2 separate regions of the Homo sapiens genome follow, and region 1 is linked to region 2. Evidence: promoter capture Hi-C in 16 types of primary human blood cells and fetal thymus (Javierre and others, 2016). All regions are on one chromosome and are shown on one strand. The core of a region is centred on a gene start or on the middle of the fragment in contact, and the rest is flanking DNA. Distances in the headings are between cores, read along the strand shown. Region 1 holds the start of KCNG3 (potassium voltage-gated channel modifier subfamily G member 3). Region 2 holds the start of THADA (THADA armadillo repeat containing).

What was found. Contacts are between HindIII fragments. The CHiCAGO score rates a contact against its expected background, and 5 or more counts as called.
Region 1: the fragment with the promoter of KCNG3 here is called in contact with the fragment with the promoter of THADA in region 2 in 5 of 17 cell types (monocytes, fetal thymus, non-activated CD4 T cells and 2 more); the score reaches 12.2 in monocytes.

The regions. Positions count from the first base shown.
Region 1 is chr2:42,492,329-42,496,476 of GRCh38, reverse strand. KCNG3 (potassium voltage-gated channel modifier subfamily G member 3) reads left to right here and starts at 2,495. Exons shown (of 2, transcript NM_133329.6): 1 at 2,495-3,640. The coding sequence starts at 2,976. It also overlaps a transcript of MTA3 not described here. RefSeq lists enhancers at 1,174-1,468, 2,793-3,550, 3,551-4,148 and silencers at 2,223-2,302, 2,393-2,442, 2,623-2,712. The HindIII fragment of the contact is 17,203 bases long and covers 722-4,148 here.
Region 2 is chr2:43,593,394-43,597,709 of GRCh38, reverse strand. THADA (THADA armadillo repeat containing) reads left to right here and starts at 1,672. Exons shown (of 38, transcript NM_022065.5): 1 at 1,672-1,779. The HindIII fragment of the contact is 4,194 bases long and covers 812-4,316 here.

The DNA.
Region 1 (4,148 bases), core at 1,246-3,745, 1.1 Mb after region 2:
GTAATACTTCTCAACATTATCTTCTCAAAGTACAAAGAATAGAATTGGCTTTAAGAATGCTCTCTAAACCAGATTATATTGAGACAAGCCTATCATTTCTGCATCACTGTTTTCTTTGTTTAAGAAAACGATTTGGGTATTGCTGCTGCAGCAGTGGTTGATGATATTAAAATCAAATAAAAATATTACTCTTGAAACAAATGAAATGATTTAAGCCTATCTCTCTAAGAAATCGCATGAAAATATACCTAGGAGGCACACATTGTATTGTCATCAAATTAATTTGTTTTCTAAGCTCAAATGTAATTTAAAATGAGATATTTCTTCAACTGGTTCAATCAACAGACAGTAGAAGGATTCTACGGAGAGAACACAGGAAATAAACCCTACAATAATGTTAGAGCAAACAATCGGCACTATAGTTCTGTCTTCTATTGCTTGTGATGCTTCTAGAAAGTATTTTTTAACGGCTTCCTGATGAATTGGCTCTTGGTATCAAGCCAGGCTCATCTCTGGCTCACATCTGCAAACTTTTCCCCATCCTCACGTCCTACAACAAATCCATCTTCAAGACCTGCAAAGTTCTTGGTCTCAGCGTTTCTCAGAACAGACCCTTCTTCATCTTCACAGACACGGGGTTGGGGATCCCATTCCTGGGTTGCGAAATGACCTTCTCCTTAGAATGACCCAAAGTGCAAAGGCATCTTCCTGAAATAAAGCTTTCATCAAGCCATTTCTGCTATGGAAACCTCCAGGGATTCCATTGCTTATGGGATCCAATTTAAATGCTGCAGTTGAGATCCCCATTGTTTCAGTGGGCAAGTGCATTATACTTCTTCACAGACTTTAAACCTCCACATTCGAGATTTTGCTACTAGGAATGTTTTGCCCTTTCTCTGTGCCAACTCATGGCCATCAGCACCTCCAATTCTGTCTTGAAACTCACTTTCTTACAGATATTTTTCTTGTTTAATATCTACTTAGTAGATACTAAACAGCAAAGTAGCAGTATCTACCCAGTAGACACTAAATAGCAAAATAGATACTGAATAGCAAACTATTTAGTAGATACTAAAGTAGCAAATAACTCCTGTTTTTGAGCTTTTAATCACATTTAGTGCTCTTAAGATAAATTATCCAAGTCTGGGGATAAACAACTCACAGAGATTTTCATTCTTTAAGAAGCCACCGAGAGTGATTTTACTTAAAAGACAGCACTCACATTTTCAGTTGTCTGCCTTTTCACTAGGAATCCACTTAAGAACCAGCGCAAAAGGACTCCGTTTGGCGACCTCTAGCGGGCACCGGACAATCCTACAAAATTACGAAAAGTAGAGGGCAATGAAAAACTCTTCCCTTTAACCAGCCAGGTTACCCTGTGGTCAGATGACCGCATCTCACCCTACCCCACCCTTATTTTTTTCTTCTAGTATTTGTTTTGCATCTAACACGGTTCGCCTTACAACTCACCTGTCTCGCCTCCGGCGGGCTGGGCTGCCGGTGTCGGGTGTCAGGTGAATGAATTGCTGGTAGCAGTTTAAAATAATCCCTGCCAAGTGGAACCCGCTTTCTGGGCACGGACAAGAGCGCGGGGTAGATCGCTCTGCGGAGCCTTCACGGGGCTCTTCCCGCTCGGAGGGCCGGTGCTGCAGCCGGGTCAGGGGTGCGCGGGGGAAATCAAGATATTTTGAAAAGGAGGATGCAGACGAAGACCAAGAGAAAGGCTGTTTTTGCCGGTGACAAGGCGTTCCTCCCCAGACTTTCATCCCACTCTAAGGGCAGCATCTCGAGAGGGTCCAGGCGCGCTACACGTTAGGCGCCTTCTCAGGACTCGCGCCCCAGAACGTGGGGGCCGGGGCCGGGTCGGGGACCGCTTCCCTCCGCGGGCTGGCAGGCGGCACCGAGGCTGGGGGATGGGGCGTGTAGCCGCCCTCTGAGCACGCGGTACGTGGGTCGCCCCGCGCGGCGGTAGGAAGAGCAAAGTCGGCAGGAAAAGCCGTGGCTGGGATGCCTTCCCTGAGAAATCCTTAGGGGCGATGTCAGAACCCGAGCTGGGCTCCGGACAGTTTCTGGAAAAAGCTCTCCAAACGCCGTCTGTCCCCGCACCCGAGTCCACACTGGGCTTTGAACCAGGGCTGTTAAAAGGGGCCCTGGGGACTGCCCAATTCATCCCGATGGCCCAGGGCAGGACGCGGGAGCAGGCATCCCGGCGCTGGGCTCCCCGCTCCCCCGCCCTGCGGACCCCTCCCCGCCACTACGGGCCGGAGCGGAGGGGGAGGACGGCGTCACGAGGCGGGGAGCCCGAGGTCCAGGGCGGGGCGCCCGGGAATCCCAGCCCGAGCAAGCCGGGGAGGTGCGGGCGCGGGCGGGAAGCGGAGGGCGGCGCGGAGGGAGGTGAGCGGCGCGCGCGGAGCCGGCGGGCGAGGAGGAGGACTGCACAGAGGCCCCGCCCCCGCCGCCGCGAGCCGGCTCTTCGCCGCCTCCGAACCCGCTCACTTTGCCTCTCGCCTCTGGACGGCGGCGGGGCGGCCGCCGGATTCGCGGCCGCAGGGAGCGCCGGAGACGGGGAGCTATTCCGCCCCGGCGGCTCCATTCGGCGCCCGCAGCCCTCAGGGGGTCGGCCCCGCGGCTTGGGAGAGGGCACCGCGGCCTCGGTGTGCGCAGCCCTCGGGCGCGAGGGTCGGCGGCGCGGACACAGCCGCGTTCCCAGCCGGTGGGGCTCAGCGCTGGCGCCGGCGAGGACTCCCCGGCCACCCGCAGGTACCGCCGGGCGGAGGGCGCGCTACTAGCAGCGCCGGAGATACTCGAGCCCAGGGACCCCCGGGCCAGCGGAGGGCAGGAGCGGAGCCCCGAGGGAGCGCGGGCCCCGACGGCGCGCTCCCCCGTCAGCCACGGGCAGGCAGGCCCCGCGTGGCGGCTTGGGGTGGGGGGCTGCAGCGGGGCCCTCGGGCCGAAAGTCCCCCGGGCGGCCAGCCATGACCTTCGGGCGCAGCGGGGCGGCCTCGGTGGTGCTGAACGTGGGCGGCGCCCGGTATTCGCTGTCCCGGGAGCTGCTGAAGGACTTCCCGCTGCGCCGCGTGAGCCGGCTGCACGGCTGCCGCTCCGAGCGCGACGTGCTCGAGGTGTGCGACGACTACGACCGCGAGCGCAACGAGTACTTCTTCGACCGGCACTCGGAGGCCTTCGGCTTCATCCTGCTCTACGTGCGCGGCCACGGCAAGCTGCGCTTCGCGCCGCGGATGTGCGAGCTCTCCTTCTACAACGAGATGATCTACTGGGGCCTGGAGGGCGCGCACCTCGAGTACTGCTGCCAGCGCCGCCTCGACGACCGCATGTCCGACACCTACACCTTCTACTCGGCCGACGAGCCGGGCGTGCTGGGCCGCGACGAGGCGCGCCCCGGCGGGGCCGAGGCGGCTCCCTCCAGGCGCTGGCTGGAGCGCATGCGGCGGACCTTCGAGGAGCCCACGTCGTCGCTGGCCGCGCAGATCCTGGCTAGCGTGTCGGTGGTGTTCGTGATCGTGTCCATGGTGGTGCTGTGCGCCAGCACGTTGCCCGACTGGCGCAACGCAGCCGCCGACAACCGCAGCCTGGATGACCGGAGCAGGTACTCCGCCGGCCCTGGGAGGGAGCCCTCCGGGTAGGACGCACTGCTTCTCTACCCGTCCCGTCCGTCCTGTCGCGTCTGTCCGTCCCGTCCATACGTCCCGTCTCCGTCCTGTCCGCCTCCGGGCGACCGAGCCAGCGGGGTGCGCGCCCAGCGAGGCCCAGGCGCGGCCAACTACGGGACCGGTCGGTCCCCACTCCTACCCCGTTGTCCGGGGCACCAGCGGGGTCTGGCCCTTACACTAGACGCACCTCTTGAGGGCGAAATCCTCAGGCATGGGGAGGGGCGTGTAGAGATAGACAAATGTCCCCTCTTTGTAGTTTACTTTTGCGCAGAGAGCAACCTGCTAATTACATTTTTCTGAACTTTTATTGTTAGGGTTCAACAATTAAGCCTTGAACTAAGCGCAGTTTGAATTATTTGCCAATTTTTGGTAGTGTTTGGAAAGATGGATTCTTGTTATGGTGAAATGTGCACTCTCCACACATTCTATACACTCTGCCCCCGGCATACTATGTGCTGTAATGGAATCGTTATATTA
Region 2 (4,316 bases), core at 423-2,922:
GTGCAGGGTGAAGAGTTGCAGTGTCTGCCAACAAAAAAGGGGTTCGGACCCACTGAGTTATATAATTAGTAGGTCTGAAACAATATACATATTTTAAAAAACATAAAACTTAAAAATGGTTAAAATGGTAAATTTTGCTGTGTATTTTACCATAATTTAGAAAAAAAGGAAATAAAATCTCACAGCTCCTGTAAAGTAGCATTTCAAGAAATTTTTACTTCAGTTATGTGTGAGTACTTCTACGTCCACAGTTTCAAAGTCTGCAATGTATTTCTTACTATGTCAGGGTCAAAAATACCAGAAAAAATTATGGTGGAGAACCGTCTGCACACACTCACCAGCTGACATGCACAACATAGTTCACAGCAGCAATGTTTAGAACAAAAACTGGAAATAATGCACATGTTAAGAGGCAGCAGGATGGATACATAATGAAGTATATTAAACAATGGAAAATTACGGTCCGGGCGCCATGGCTCACGCCTGTAATCCCAGCACTTTTGGAGACCGAGGCGGGCGAATCACGAGGTCAGGAGTTCAAGACCAGCATGAGCAACATGGTGAAACCCCGTCTCCACTAAAAAATACAAAAATTAGCTGAGCGTGGTGGCGCGCGCCTGTAATCCCGGTTACTTAGGAGGCTGAGGCAGGAGAATCACTTGAACCCGGGAGGCAGAGTTTGCAGTGAGCCGAGATCGCGCCACTGCACTCCAGCCTGGGCGAAGAGCACTACAGCCACCTGTAGGTGAATATGAAAAGCAATGCTGAAAGAAGCAAATTGCTGGAGAATACATACGCAATTCCAAAAGCTTCAAAATTGAACGAAACAAGATAGTGATACATACATTATGTGGTAAAGCTATAAAGAAAACCAAGGCAAGCTGATATAAAAAATTCAGAAAATAATTATTAAAAACTTAAGTCATTAACGTTTAGAGAACTGAAATGTCTCTATTTTCCAAATTAATACTCCTGATAATAGCATCAGGTCTTTCCTGATCTTGCCCACTGTCGCAGCTCCCAGTGACACCCCGTTATTGTATTTATTTTTCAAGGACTGAACCATCTGACAATTTGTATGTGCTGCGTAATACATGTATCCTCAGTAGGGGATAGCTTTCAAGGCTAGCGCTTGGCGACGCTCTGACAGTAGAGTTCATTATCTATTGAATGAATATATGCGCTTTGGCACACGTTGGTTCAGCACTACTCATTTTAGTCCGAATCCTTCTCGTGGCTTCCGTTCAGTCGCCGCCCAAACCCCTGCCCCATCTCGCAGGCTCTAAACTCCCTGGACTCGTTCCCGAGTCCCAGACGTAGTTTTCTCCTAGACTCTGCACTGGGCCAACAGAGTGGGAGAAAGGTGGAAGGTCTGGATTGGGAGAAAAGCGCTTCCCAGGCGTCCAAGCATGTGAAGAGAATGAGGTCTTTTCATTCAACAAGAGACCGTTGAATGAAGGCCCCTCAGCAACAAGGCCCGTCAGCCCTAACGCCATGAGGAACGCGCGGCGCTGACGGTACAGTGGCTGGTTAACTAAACCGGATTGCTACCGGCCACCCCGGTGACGTCACGACCTCCTCGAACTCCTGATTGGAGGAGCTGCGTTTGGTCAATTCTCGCGATGACTCCTCCAGGTTACCCCTCTCTCCCTCCCTTTGCCCTGACCCGGTAGTCGACCGTGGACCGCGCTGCGAGCCTCGGAGACGCCGTAGAAGGAGACCTGCTTCCGGGACTGGACCAGGCGCCTGCGACTCTTCTCAGACGCCGACGTGCACGAGGTTTGGCTCCCAGGTGTCCTGCCTGCCAGACCCGCGGTAGCTCGGCTCGGCCAGTTTTGCTAGGGCTGCCTGGCGAGCCACACCAATTCCCATCCTTTGGTATCGCCAGGATTCGGCGGCTGTGAAACTGATTTCCGGTCGCTAAGGTCTCCATGGAGACAGCACTTTAACCACTTTCTCCCACTGTCATTCCTCGACTCCACGTGGTTCAGAAATCGCCCAGAGAATGTTTGTGGGAGTCAGCCAGGAAGGTGTAGAGTGAAGCAGCGTTCTAAAGGGAAGCAGTAAGTGGGACCTAGGAGGAGTGTAATTTACTGGGCACCTTCTGGCCTTGCGGTAGACACGGGATTTACCCCCTTGGGGACCCTGGTTCTTCAGGACACACGTTTAGGCATCATTTGAGCAGGCATAATTACCGAGTCTGCTTTTGTGTAGCCCTCAGAATTGCAAGAGCAAATCCTCCTGCAAACTTGCTTACCTTTCACCAGAGAATAGTCTCCCTAGTTAGGTTTCCCAGTCTCTTCTGGCTTTGTACGATGGTCACTTTCTTAGGAAGCGTGCCTCTATTCCTCTAGATCTGACTATCCCTTTACAAATTATTCTGTTGTCGACACTTTCCTAGCTGCGTCCATTTTTGGTTAAGTGGTTGCTCACCTGCCATTACTGTATGGATTTCTTACTTCCCAAACAGACCATAGGTTCTTAAGATGTAGAATGTCACTTAGATGTAGAATGCATTTTAGGTACCAGATAGTCCACCTTCCTGCCCTTAAAGACATATATCCCTTCTAGAACATCTCTGACAAATGTTTGTTAATTAATTTGTTTATTCGTGAAGTGTTTGTTAAACACCTACTATGTGCCAGGCACTGGTTTGGAAATTGAGACTTGAAACATGAACAAAATAGATTAAAGTTGCTGCCTTCATTCAGTTTGCTACTAGGTGAGACAGACAATATACAAATTTACAAGTTAGGGTAATTTCTGGTACTAGTAAGTGCTATGAAGAAAATTAACGGAAATGGTGTCTACGTGTGTTGTATTGGTGAGATTTTAGATAGAGTGGTCATGGAAGGCTTTTAGAAGGTAATGTTGCAGCAGAAACATGAATGGTGAGAAGGAGTCAGTCTTGCAAAGATGTGGAATGAACATTAAGGGGCAGAGATACTGAGAAGTGTAAAGCCTCTTAGGTGGGAATAAGAGCATCAGGAAGTACAAAGCTCTTGAGATGGTGAAGAGGAGATTGGTTTGAGATGAAGAGTGGAGGAAGGCAGGGTCAGATTATTTAGGGCCTTGAAGGGCAAAATCTCAAGTATTTATTTATTTATTTATTTATTTATTTATTTGAGATGGAGTTTCGCTCTTGTCTCCCAGGCTGGAGTGCAGTGGCACGATCTCGGCTCACTGCAACCTCTGCCTCCTGGGTTCAAGCCATTCTCCTGCCTCAGCCTCCGGAGTAGCTGGGGTTATAGGCGCCTGCCACCACACCCGGCTAATTTTTGTATTTTTAGTTAGTGCAGACGGGGTTTCACCATGTTGGCCAGGCTGGTCTTGAACTCCTGACTTCAGGAGATCCACCCGCCTCGGCCTCCCAAAGTGCTGGGATTACAGGCACGAGCCCCCACTCCTGGCCTCAAGTTTGAATTTTATTCTAAGTGTATTTAGAAACCCTTGGAAAGTTTTAAGGAAGAGAGTAAGTAATTCAATTTGATGAGAGTTTTTTTTAAAGAGATTGCTTTGATGATTGTAAACAGAATGGGCTCTTTGGAGGTAAGTGTAGAAGTCAGGAGACCAGTTAGGGAGCTGTTTCAGGAGTCCAAGAGAAAATATTCAGTCATCTTCTCTTTGAATATTCCTGGTGTTGGAAAATTTCTTTGTTTAAAAGGTAGCCCAGTCCTTAGTGGGACCATAGAGCTTTTCCTTTGTATTGATCTGGAATCTGTTTCCCTGTAGCTTGTACTGACTTTTACTAATCTAATAGCAAGACAAGAAGTCTAAGGCTGGGCGCGGTGGCTCACGCCTGTAATCCCAGCACTTTGGGGGGCCGAGGTGGGTGGATCACGAGGTCAGGAGATCGAGACCATCCTGGCTAACATGATGAAACCCCGTCTCTACTAAAAATAGAAAAAATTAGCCGGGCGTGGTGGCGGGCGCCTGTAGTCCCAGCTACTCGGGAGGCTGAGGCAGGAGAATGGCCTGAACCCAGGAGGCTGAGCTTGCAGTGAGCGCAGATCGCGCCACTGCACTCCAGCATGGGCGAAGGAGCAAGACTCCGTCTCAAAAAAAAAAAAAAAAAAAAAGTCTGTAGTAGACAAATAAATCTATTCCCTTTTTCTCCAAAACAGTCTAGCAGCTGTTTTAAGGCTCTTGTTCTGTTGACTTTTTCTCCAGGCCAAACACCTTTGGTTAACTGAGCTGTTCTCTGAAGGAGGTGCTCTCTAGGTCCTTCAGAAATAGTTCCATTGTTTGTTATGGCTCCTTAGAGTATGGCCGCCAGCGCTGTACCTAATGCTCTACATGTCACCTGGCCTGTTTGA